Linked DNA regions of Homo sapiens: all the other regions are linked to region 3. Evidence: promoter capture Hi-C in 16 types of primary human blood cells and fetal thymus (Javierre and others, 2016). All regions are on one chromosome and are shown on one strand. The core of a region is centred on a gene start or on the middle of the fragment in contact, and the rest is flanking DNA. Distances in the headings are between cores, read along the strand shown. Region 1 overlaps H6PD (hexose-6-phosphate dehydrogenase/glucose 1-dehydrogenase). Region 2 overlaps H6PD (hexose-6-phosphate dehydrogenase/glucose 1-dehydrogenase). Region 3 holds the start of SLC25A33 (solute carrier family 25 member 33).

Region 1 (3,469 bases), core at 614-3,113, 290 kb before region 3:
GTTACCCAGGCTGGTCTTGAACGCCTGGTCTCAAGTGATCCTCTCTTGCTTTAACCTCCCAAATAGCTGAGACTACAGGAGTGCCCCACCTCCCCGGCTTCTATCTTAGATGGTACTTTGTGAGCTTTTTTTAAAATTGAGATACAATGCACATACCACAAAATTTACGCTTTTAAAATATAAAATTAAGTGGTTTTTAGTATATTTACAAAGTTATGCAACTACTATCTAATTCGAGAACATTTATGAGCATTTTAAAAAACATATTCCCTTTAAGTATATACTTCGGCAGTAGAATGACGGGGCCAAAGGGGAGAAGTGCTTTCTAGCTGTTACTCTCTGTTATGAGTCTGAGCAGCACAGCTGGCGGGCACAGCCATGGCCCCCCTGCTTTGTCATCCTCTGACCTTGGACGAGCTCTGGATGTGCACAGGTGGGAGCCAAGTTTACAGGGGGTCTTTCCTCCCAGTGTCCACCCTGGTTGTGCTTTTCTCTATCCTTTTCATATACTGATGGGTTTCAACCCTCAACTTTCAACCCGGGAAAATACACTAGGAGCCAATATAGATCATTTTTAGGAGAAATCAGTCCACAATAACGGGCAGTAACTAGAAAAGATCAACATCAGCAGGAGGGCCAGCCCCTCGCCTCCTGTCCTTGCACTCAGCTGCATGGCCTCTTCCCAGGGAGGTGCCAGGCCACAGTCCCAGTCACTGCATTAAACTCTGAAAAGACGGAGCCAACCAGGCAAAGTCCATAAATCTACAGGCCGTGTTAAACACAGGCGCACCCCCTGAAGCTTGAAATTAAGGAATAAAGGAAGCTCTCTTTTACCCAGCAGGTAGTAAACCCGTGGAATGCATTCTTTTTGAGAATTGAGAGAGGATAAAAATAGGAAAGGGGCCGCTTAGGGATTCGCTACATTAATGAATAGTAAGCAGATAACAGGGCTTTTAGGGACTCTGTTGTGTTCCCTTCATCAAAAATTCATCTGTTTTTAAAGCTTTAAGTATGCTGTTGACATATAAATCCACTGTAATTCATTGATTGGAAGACATTTTTTTCATATTTGGACGTCTCTGAAGTTGGGTTTATCCTTAATAGGGTGACATAGTGGAACTGGAAACCCTTTTCTTTCTTAGGGGTTATAAAACAGCGATGCTTCCGCCACTGATGGCATTTCAGGTTTGATGAAATCCAGTTTATCTCCAGTGTGCGTTGTCTCCCCAGGCCCTAGTTTATACCTCCAGCCGCCTTTTAGATCATTTCATGGGGTGTTGCACCATCCCTTCAGATTCAGCAGATTTAGAATGAAAACCATCACTGCATTTTTCTCATGAAATACCAACTGTGTTTTCTAACCTCTTTATTTCAAATGGGAACAGTGCTCTCTGAGTGACCAGGCTGGTAGCCCTTCTCTTACAGCATCTGTCATAAGAAAAATTCCAACCAGTCTTTATCAGTGTTTCCTGTGTGCTAGCCACTGTTCCAAGCCCTGTGTGGATATTAACTCCTTCAGGCCCACAGAAGCCCTGTAAGGGAGGTGCGGGGATTGTTGCTTGTTCGTATGTGAGGTGATGTCAGTTGCTGGAGATCACAGGGCTGAAAGATGGCAGAGCCGGTATTTAAACCGGGGCAGGCTGGGCACGGGGGCTTATACCTGTAATCCCAGCACTTTGGGAGGCCGAGACGGGTGGATCACTTGAGGTCAGGCGTTCAAGACCAGCCTGGTCAAATGGTGAAACCCCATCTCCACTAAAAATACAAAAATTATCCAGGCATGGTAGTTTGTGCCTGTAATCCCAGCTACTCGGGAGGCTGAGGCAGGAGAATTGCTTGAACCCAGGAGGCGAAGGTTACAGTGAGCCAAGATCGCGCCACTGCACTGCAGCCTGGGTAATGGGGAGACTCCATCTCCAATAAAATAAAACAAAATAAGATAAGATAAAATAAGATAAAATAAACTGGAGCAGCCTGGCTCCAGAGACCACACTCCAGATCACAGCTCTGTACCACCATTCAAGGATCCAGCCAGTCACCAAGTAGTTTGTATTCATCTGCTATAATAACTTCTTTGCAGTTCACTGTGACTTCGTTCCCTCCTACCTTTGTTACTTCCTTTGATGGCAGCAAAGGCTGCCTCACTGATTTCACTACCACCAGTCCCATCCTGTTCATCTTGGAGGTCGCAGACAGCTTCATCTTCCTGAAGTACCTCTTTCGTGCTTCTGCTTCCCTGTTCTAAAACCTTTTTTAAAAAGTTTTATTGAGCTGTAACTCACAAATCCTACTACACTTTACCCAGTTAAGGTGGACAGGCCAGTGAGCTTTCGTGTATTCACAGAGTTGTGTGTCAGTACCACAATCAATTTTAGGACATGTTCATCACGGCAAAGGAAGCCCTGTACCCCTTCGTTGTCATCCCACAATTTCCCCCTCTCCCCAGCTCCTGGCAACCACAGAAATGCATTCTCTCTGCGGGGTTGCCTGTTCTGGATATTTTGTACATATAGGATCATACGGTGTGTGGTTTCCATCAGTTAGCATCCTGAGTTCAGAGTTCACCCATGTTCTAGCATGTACCAGCACTTCATTTCTTTTTACTGCTGAATAATATCTTATTGTATAGATATACCATAATTTATCCAGTCACCAGTTAGTGGACATTTGGGTTGCCTCTACTTTTTGGCTGTTATATATAATGCTGCAATGAGCATTCATGTACAAGCTTTTGTGTGGACCTGCATTTTTATTTCTCTTGAGTATAAACCCAGGAGTGGGGTTGCTGGAGGATCATGACTCTGTTTAACTGTTTGAGGCCAATAACTCTTATTTATTTATTTATTTTTTATTTTTTATTTTTGGAGACAGGGTCTTTATCTGTCGCCCTGGCTGGAGTGCAGTGGTGCAATCATAGCCCACTGCAGCCTCGACCTCCTAGGCTTAAGTGATCCTCCCACCTCAGCCTCCCAAGTAGCTGGGACCACAGGTGTATTTCACCATGCCCAGCTAATTTTTGTATTTTTTGTAGAGATGGGGTTTTGCCATGTTGCCTAGGCTGGTCTTGAACTCCTGGACTCAGGAGATCTGCCCACCTCAGCCTCCCAAAGTGCTGGGATTACAAGCATAAGCCACTGTGCCAGGCCTTAGGTCCCTTTCAAATGCAAGATATTCCTGATTTTCCTGTTCTATTATTGCAGGGGAAGGGAAGAATTGTCTTTTTACATTCTCCCGAAAAGGAGAATTGGAAGATTTGGTCACCCTGGGCCCACACTCCTGTGAGGCACCACCTGAATGCACCTGAGGTACTTAACTGTACCTCTGAGGGACACCAGCCTTACTCCATCCTTTTCGCTTTTGCTGGCCCCGGTAGGCATTGGAATCTCTGAGCTTTGCCCTAGACCCCTCCTTCCAGAAGCTCAGCCGGCTTCTTCATTGTGCTCTGTTTCTAAAGGCCAGTGGTGCCCAC
Region 2 (3,446 bases), core at 689-3,188, 270 kb before region 3:
TGGTTTTTGTGGAAACAATGGAAACTTACAGATGCCTGCCTGGGATGATGAGGCACATTCAGAACAAATGCTTTTTTTTTTTTGAGACAGAGTCTCGCTCTGACGCCCAGGCTGGAGTGCAGTGGCGCGATCTCGGCTCACTGCAAACTTTGCCTCCCAGGTTCAAGTGATTCTCCTACCTCAGCCTCCCGAGTAGCTGGGATTACACCACCATGCCCAGCAAATTTTTGTGTTTTTAGTAGAGACGGAGTTTCACCATGTTGGCCAGGCTGGTCTCGAACTCCTGACCTCAGGTGATCCATCCGCCTTGGCCTCCCAAAGTGCTGGGATTACAGGCGGGAGCCACCATGCCTGGCCAGAACAAATGCCTTTTTAAACCTTTTAAGAACATTTTTAAAATGTCTTTTTCTATGTCAAATGTAACGTTTATTTTTTTAAACAATAAAATTGATTTGCCAAAATCCGGGCTTTAATTCTTTATTTGGGGCATGAGGTGTAGGGGTTTGTGGGCCCCAGCGTCATGCTGTGTGTGTTCTTGGAGGAGGGGAGGGCTGCCGTGAGTGAGGGCCCTGAACCGAGGACAGCCGCGTGCCTGTTGCGAGTGTAAGTGTGTCTGACTGAGCAAGCCAGTGCATTCCGTTTGCAAGAGGGTCTGTGGGCCTCATGGGAGAGAGAGCAGTGGGCAGGATGATCTCATTTCATAGACTCCCAAGCAGTCTAGGAAGAGTCCCCCAACCTTCCCGGCAGCCCACTGGAGGGGAAGGAGCTCACCCCTGAGTGGGAGATCGGGAGGGGAGGGTCTTTGAGGACACCAGAGCCTGATGCCTTCATTTGTCTTCTCTCCTGTCCCTTGCCTGAGTCCTACCTCCAAGCTGTGTCACACTCCCAGGAATGTAAGTGTTTTGGGGAAGTCAAATAGGATTTCAGGACCACTTGAGGTACAGAAGTTAGAGATTTGCAGGTTGTCACCAACAGCATGCAGGACCCACACAGGCTTGGTGACATCACAAGGTGGCAAAAGGAGCAGCGCACACATTCGAAATAGGTGAGCTCTGGGCAGGGACCCCATGGCAGAGGGGACAGAGACGGGTGAGACATGCCCAGAGCCTGCAAGGGAAGATGTCACGAAGGCCAGAAACCAGAGCTGCAGTGACCGTCCCTGCCTGTCCCTCAGATGGGAGGCGCGCGGGGGATCTGCTGCTTCCCGGGGGGTAGCCCAGGGCGTCCCCTCCCTGCTTCTCTGTGGTGATGGCTGCTGGTTCCACAGTCCTCACAGAAACATGGCGGGGCAGGACTGTGGGACCCAGCCAGCGTCTGTGAGGGCTGCACTGGAGGGTCACCTGGTGTCCAGCCCCCGTTTGGGGACCCTCCCATACATGTGTTCTGGGGAGTTCCGATGGCAGGCATGGGGCGTGTGACCCAGTGCTAGCCGATCAGGACATCCAATGCCCACAGCCGCAGCAATGGGATCTGGGAGGGCTCAGGGCCCAAACTGGTCAAATCAGAGTGACCCCGAGGACTCAGGCTGAAGCGGCACCATTTCTCTGGACTCAGGCCTTGGTGAGCTGCAGCAGCCATCTCAGCGCCACGGAGGCCTAAGGACAAGGCTGGCATGGAGGAGAGGAGAGCCCCAGGATCCCACTTCGGGGGCTGTCTCTGGGACCTGATTCCAGTCTCCTGAAGTCAGCCTGCGGGCCTCGTTTCTGGGTGCCTAAACTACCTTGTAGCAGCAGAACTTAATAGATACTGGAGCTAGTAGCTTTGTTATGTATTTCCGGAAGCCCAGCAGAAACCCCACACTGACCTAAGTAAGAAGGTGATTCTCATGAACCAAGAGGACAGATCCTTCTGTTTGGGGTCAGGGTTTCAGCAGTCCAGTGTGGCAACACCAGTTGGGTGGCCCCTGCTGTGCAGCATCAGTTTCTTCTTGCTTAATTGGAACTGTTTTCCTGATAGACCATAGTTTTGGAGATGCAGGGACAGATGGAAGGGCAGGAGGGGAAGAGTTGCGCAAATCATAAAAGAAGCCGTGGTGAAGACAAGCTCAGGAGCTGCCAGCCTGAGTCCACCTTCTCCAGGGTCTCTTACAAGCTCTTTACAGACAGCCAGAGCCCGGGTGGGGTCAGCCAGCTGCCCCTCGCCACCCAGCTCCCAGCAGAAGGGGAGGGGATGCGGCTCCACCCATGCCCTCTCTTACCCCCATCTTCCCACTCACCTGTCGGGCTGAGGACCACGAAGGCAGAGACTCCATACATTCTGCTCCTTTTCGTGTTTCTGGCACTTTACACGCCGCCCTGCAGTGAATGTGTGAGTGAATGAATGAGTGAATGGCAATAAGGAAAGAGAGTGGTCAGCAAGGCGGCTGGAGGGGTGGAGGCCTGAGCGGGTGTGGGGCCAGCGGTGAGCCTGGCACGTGTCATCCTCTCTAGGGGAGGGAGGGTCTAAGCACATGGGTCTCCTGTGCCCAGAGTGGCCAGGGCCTAGGGGTGCAATGGATGTGGTCCAGCCATGGCAGGCCACCACGCTTGTTGGCACCGTGGGATAGGGCCACGCAGAAGCAGGGCAAGGTCTGACCCCCGCTCCTGACAGCTCCCACTGGCTGCTGATGGAGAGCAAAGCCACGGTCAGCGCCCACTGCTGGACGCTGCAGCAGGGATGGCAGCCAGGGGGGCCCCCAACAGCTTAGGGCTGCTCTGTCCCCCTGGAGAGGTCTCACTACAGCCCTTTCCTTTCCCCCGTCCCCACTCACTGGCTGCGGAAACCCAGCCTCATGAGTTCTGTTTGTCTGAAGAAGCATCGTTGGGAGGAAAAATTATCAAACTAAGCTCATGCTATCAGTCAGGCCCTCCTCCTACTCCGTATGTCTTTATTTTTTTACTGAAAAAAATAAAATACAGTAAGCACTCGGATGAGAATATTAATCCATGGAGATTGCCCCCTTCAGCATTCACTGTATGAGGCCTTTTTATATTTGCTTTTTTAAAAGAAAAAAATATATATATTTTTTGATGGCAAAAACCTGGACACACATATTTTTGTAAAAATCACACATGCTTGTTACAAATGCATTGAAACAGTGCAGAAAAGTACACAAATGTGTGTAAAGAAAATCACTGTCGTCCAGCCCTCCAGAAACGAACAACAGTAACAACGGGTGCACATCCTTCAAGACACGGATGCAAATAGAAGATTCAAAATATTTCGTAAAAATGGGATCCTCCTCTTGATGCTAATTTTAATCTTAATACTTAATAAATAATAGTGCATTAATAATTTTACTAGAAACTGAAGGAATTTCATTCCATTCAGAAATATATTTTGTCACACAATCAATATCATTTCCCAAAAGGTCTCTTTAACATTAGAAGTGTATGAAAAGCCAGGTGCGGTGGCTCCCGCCTGTAATCCCAGCACTTTGGGAGACCGGGGCGGGCAGATTATCTGAG
Region 3 (3,269 bases), core at 388-2,887:
GTGGGCCACTGTGCTGGGTTTTCTTTACTTCTTTTTCTCAGATATCTCATGCCCTAGTATGGCTTCCCCTTCTCCTAGGCCTGGGAGCAATGGCTTTAATAGTAACCACTGTATTTGCATTTTGGAGGACTGCTCCTAAGAGCTGTTTTTATTTAAAGAGTCCCAGCAATCAAATACAGATTGGCTGGCTAGCTCCCACGTTTCCACACAATTCCCTCCTACTTAAGCTCTCTATGTTTACACACAGGACATCTAACTGCTTGTTCTGGTCAAGGTACAGCTTTCCGGAGCTCTGAGAGACGGAAGAGAAAGGGTTGGTACGTTCTGCAGGTGAATGGTGGTCTGCTGAGAGAGAGACAGACAGAGAGACATAGTCCAAGGTAACAGGAAAGCTTCTGGCACTGGTGCCTGTGCAGTCAGTGGTGTCACTGCCAGGACAGGAAATAGAGGTAGAGCAGGTTTGGGGGAGGGGAAGAATGATAAGTTCAATTTGGGACCTTTATTCATTAGCTCCTTGGGCATTACTAGGTGGCAGGTACTGTGTCAGGAACAACTGTGAACAAAAGAAATAAGGTCCCTGCTCTCCTGAAGCTTACATTCCTGTATGGGAAGGACAACTTAAATAAATCAACAAACTAACTGCAGAAGCCCTGGTTCTATAGTCGTGTGACAGACTGCGCTGCAAAGGCGGCCAGGAAAGTCTCCATCTGGGGGAGACCTGGAGATTAGAAGATGTCAGGTTGAGTATGACAATGACCCAGTGACATAGGCTGAGAGAAGCAGTTTGGATATCTAGGTCTGGGCTGGAGATGATCAGAAAAGAAGCAAAAAGCATACTGCAAAATATACGCAGCATATACTACTACTTATAGGGAGATCAAAAATCCACATAATGATAATGATTATTAATTATTTGAGACAGAGTCTCGCTTTGTCGTCCAGGCTGGAGTGCAGTGGCAAGATCTTGGCTCACTGCAGCCCCCGCCTCCCGGGCTCAAGCGATTATCCAGCCTCAGCCACCCAAGTAGCTGGGATGACAGGGGTGCGCCGCCTCGTCCGGCTAACTTTTGTATTTCTAGTAGAGACACGGTTTCGCCGTCTTGGACAGGTTGGTCTGTAACTCCTGGCTTCAGGCGATCCGCCCGCCCGCCTCGGCCTCCCAAAGTGTTGAGATTGCAGGCGTGAGCCACCGTGAGGGCCTCACTGATTATCTAAGGCTGTTTAGATTATAGATTTTTAGATTATGTTTTTGTTTCCCTAAACGGGGTGGTGAGTACAGAGGTGTGAGATGTAACACGTAATTTGTACACCTTTTGCACACGTAAATATCACAAAGTAAACTTTTAAAATAAGGCAAGGCCTAGGGCCTCGCGAGGCTTCTCTGAGGAGCGAGGACCAGTCAGTCACAGCCAGTTTCCACTGCCTCCACGCTCCGGCCTAGGCCAGCCCCTCTCCCCAGTCATTCGCTCGGGGCTGGCTCCGCCCCAGAACTGCGCAACCTCCCCGCCCACATCCGCGTCCTAACCAATGAGCGCTCGAAATTTGGGTCCACACCCCCGTCACGCCCCGCCCCAGACTCGCGCGCCCGTGACGTCACGGTCCGGCCCCCGCCACGTGACGGCCGCGCGCCGGGCTCTAGCTCCCCGCCGGGCTCGCGCCGCAGAGGCCGGTGAGGCGCCGGCGGCCACGCCGCGGAAGGCGCGGGCCGAGCAGAGCCGGGCGTTGGAGCCCGCGCGCGCATGGAGGCGTTGCCGGCAGCCCCCTGAGGGCAGCGGGGAGACAAGACCCGGCGACCTCGCGCATCCCTCGAGCCGCCACGCGCTCTCGCCACCGGGCGGCGACGGGCCGCGGAGCCGGCGCGGCCATGGCGACGGGCGGCCAGCAGAAGGAGAACACGCTGCTTCACCTCTTCGCCGGCGGGTGAGTTCCCGGGCCCAGCCGCGCGCGCCCCACCGCCTGCGGTCCCCTCGGCCTTCGCCCCGGGCGCGGCCCCAGCCTCCCGCGGCGGTTACCGGCCTTCCCCGGGCTACGGCGCCGGCGCTCGGGAGGAGGAAGTCCCGGCGTCGGGGACTGGTGGGCAGGGCCGAGGGAGGGGGTCGGGCCTTCCTCACCCCTACGTCCTGACCGCAGCCCCGAGGGCGGCTGTGCCCCGCCGCCCGTCCTCCCCGCGGCGTCCCCAGCTTTTCCCCATTCTGAAGAGTCAGTGGCCGGTGAGTGGTGCTCGGCGGCGGTCCAGCCTGGACGCTGTGGCGCGGCCCCCCCTCCCCCGCCCCCTTCTCCTGGGGCCTCTCCCGAAGCGCAGCGCCTCAGAGCCCGTGGTAGGATCGCTGATGCTCGGGTGTGCCCGAGGTTCCTCAGGGCAGCGCGGGAGGTCATCCGGACGGGCAAAAAGGTCTGCGGACGTTGGACGTCAGCAAGGCCTGGGTGGTGCTGGTGAACGGTGATGCTTGCGGCCACACGCGGGGTGGCTAAGCCAGGGACCCGAACTCATATGAGGTCTGGAAGGTGTGTTGAGACACTTCTCGCCGGCTGGTAGACGCTTCCAACGCCAGAGACCGCAGAATTGTAAGGTGTTCCTTGTTTTGAAAGCTGCATTAGGTCTATGGTCAGGCACCTTTTTTCCAGCGGAGACAATGCATTTTTAGGAGGTTGAGTTCTGCGGTTAGGAAGGGAGATGGTACCCCTCGCCACCTCCCCTTGTCACCTCCCGCCGAGAATAGAAGGTAAAATATTTTTGAGTATTAGTAATTTTCTTTTTTCCTTTATCACAGCCGGTGGCTTGGGGTCCTTTCGGAGTCTTACAGATATTTGGAGTATTAATTTGAGGACCTCATCGGCCTGGCACAGGAATTTTTGAGTGTAGGATATTTTGCATAAAATAGTTTATTCTGGGATGATCATCTTGGCTTGAGTAGTTGCAGCCTGGATTCCTACCTGGATATGTTCCTTACAACAAACAATGGTTGAGAAACTTATCTTGGAAGATGACTGATGAAAGCGTCCCTGAGCTTTTTTTGTACTTGTATTGTGGGCAGTCACCAGGTTACTTTAACCAAAAACTTCGGTGGGTCTTCATAGATTGGAAGAGTTTCTCATTCATCTCTTCCCTGTCATTCATTCCCTTGCAACCCTTCCCTCCATGTCTCCATTGAGACTTCCTTTTTTTTTTTGAGAGGGAGTCTTCCTCTGTCGCCCAGGCTGGAGTGCAGTGGTGCGATCTTTGGGCTCACTGCAACTTCCGCCTCCCGGATTCAGGCGATTCTCCTGCC

The links. The method cuts DNA at HindIII sites, captures the fragments that hold promoters and counts their contacts. A CHiCAGO score of 5 or more calls a contact.
Region 1: a fragment that was not itself captured here is called in contact with the fragment with the promoter of SLC25A33 in region 3 in 3 of 17 cell types (endothelial precursors, fetal thymus and megakaryocytes); the score reaches 6.9 in endothelial precursors.
Region 2: a fragment that was not itself captured here is called in contact with the fragment with the promoter of SLC25A33 in region 3 in 2 of 17 cell types (fetal thymus and erythroblasts); the score reaches 7.1 in fetal thymus.

What each region holds. Positions count from the first base shown.
Region 1 is chr1:9,252,436-9,255,904 of GRCh38, forward strand. All of the region lies in intron 3 of H6PD (hexose-6-phosphate dehydrogenase/glucose 1-dehydrogenase), which reads left to right. Among named protein-coding and RNA genes, the nearest start is that of H6PD, 19 kb to the left of the region's middle. RefSeq lists an enhancer at 32-591. The HindIII fragment of the contact is 1,725 bases long and covers 1,002-2,726 here.
Region 2 is chr1:9,270,877-9,274,322 of GRCh38, forward strand. H6PD (hexose-6-phosphate dehydrogenase/glucose 1-dehydrogenase) reads left to right here. Exons shown (of 5, transcript NM_004285.4): 5 at 1-461. Among named protein-coding and RNA genes, the nearest start is that of SPSB1, 20 kb to the right of the region's middle. The HindIII fragment of the contact is 8,208 bases long and covers 1-3,446 here.
Region 3 is chr1:9,537,828-9,541,096 of GRCh38, forward strand. SLC25A33 (solute carrier family 25 member 33) reads left to right here and starts at 1,638. Exons shown (of 7, transcript NM_032315.3): 1 at 1,638-1,920. The coding sequence starts at 1,865. RefSeq lists silencers at 1,394-1,913, 1,934-2,293 and enhancers at 1,403-1,697, 2,364-2,493. The HindIII fragment of the contact is 15,144 bases long and covers 590-3,269 here.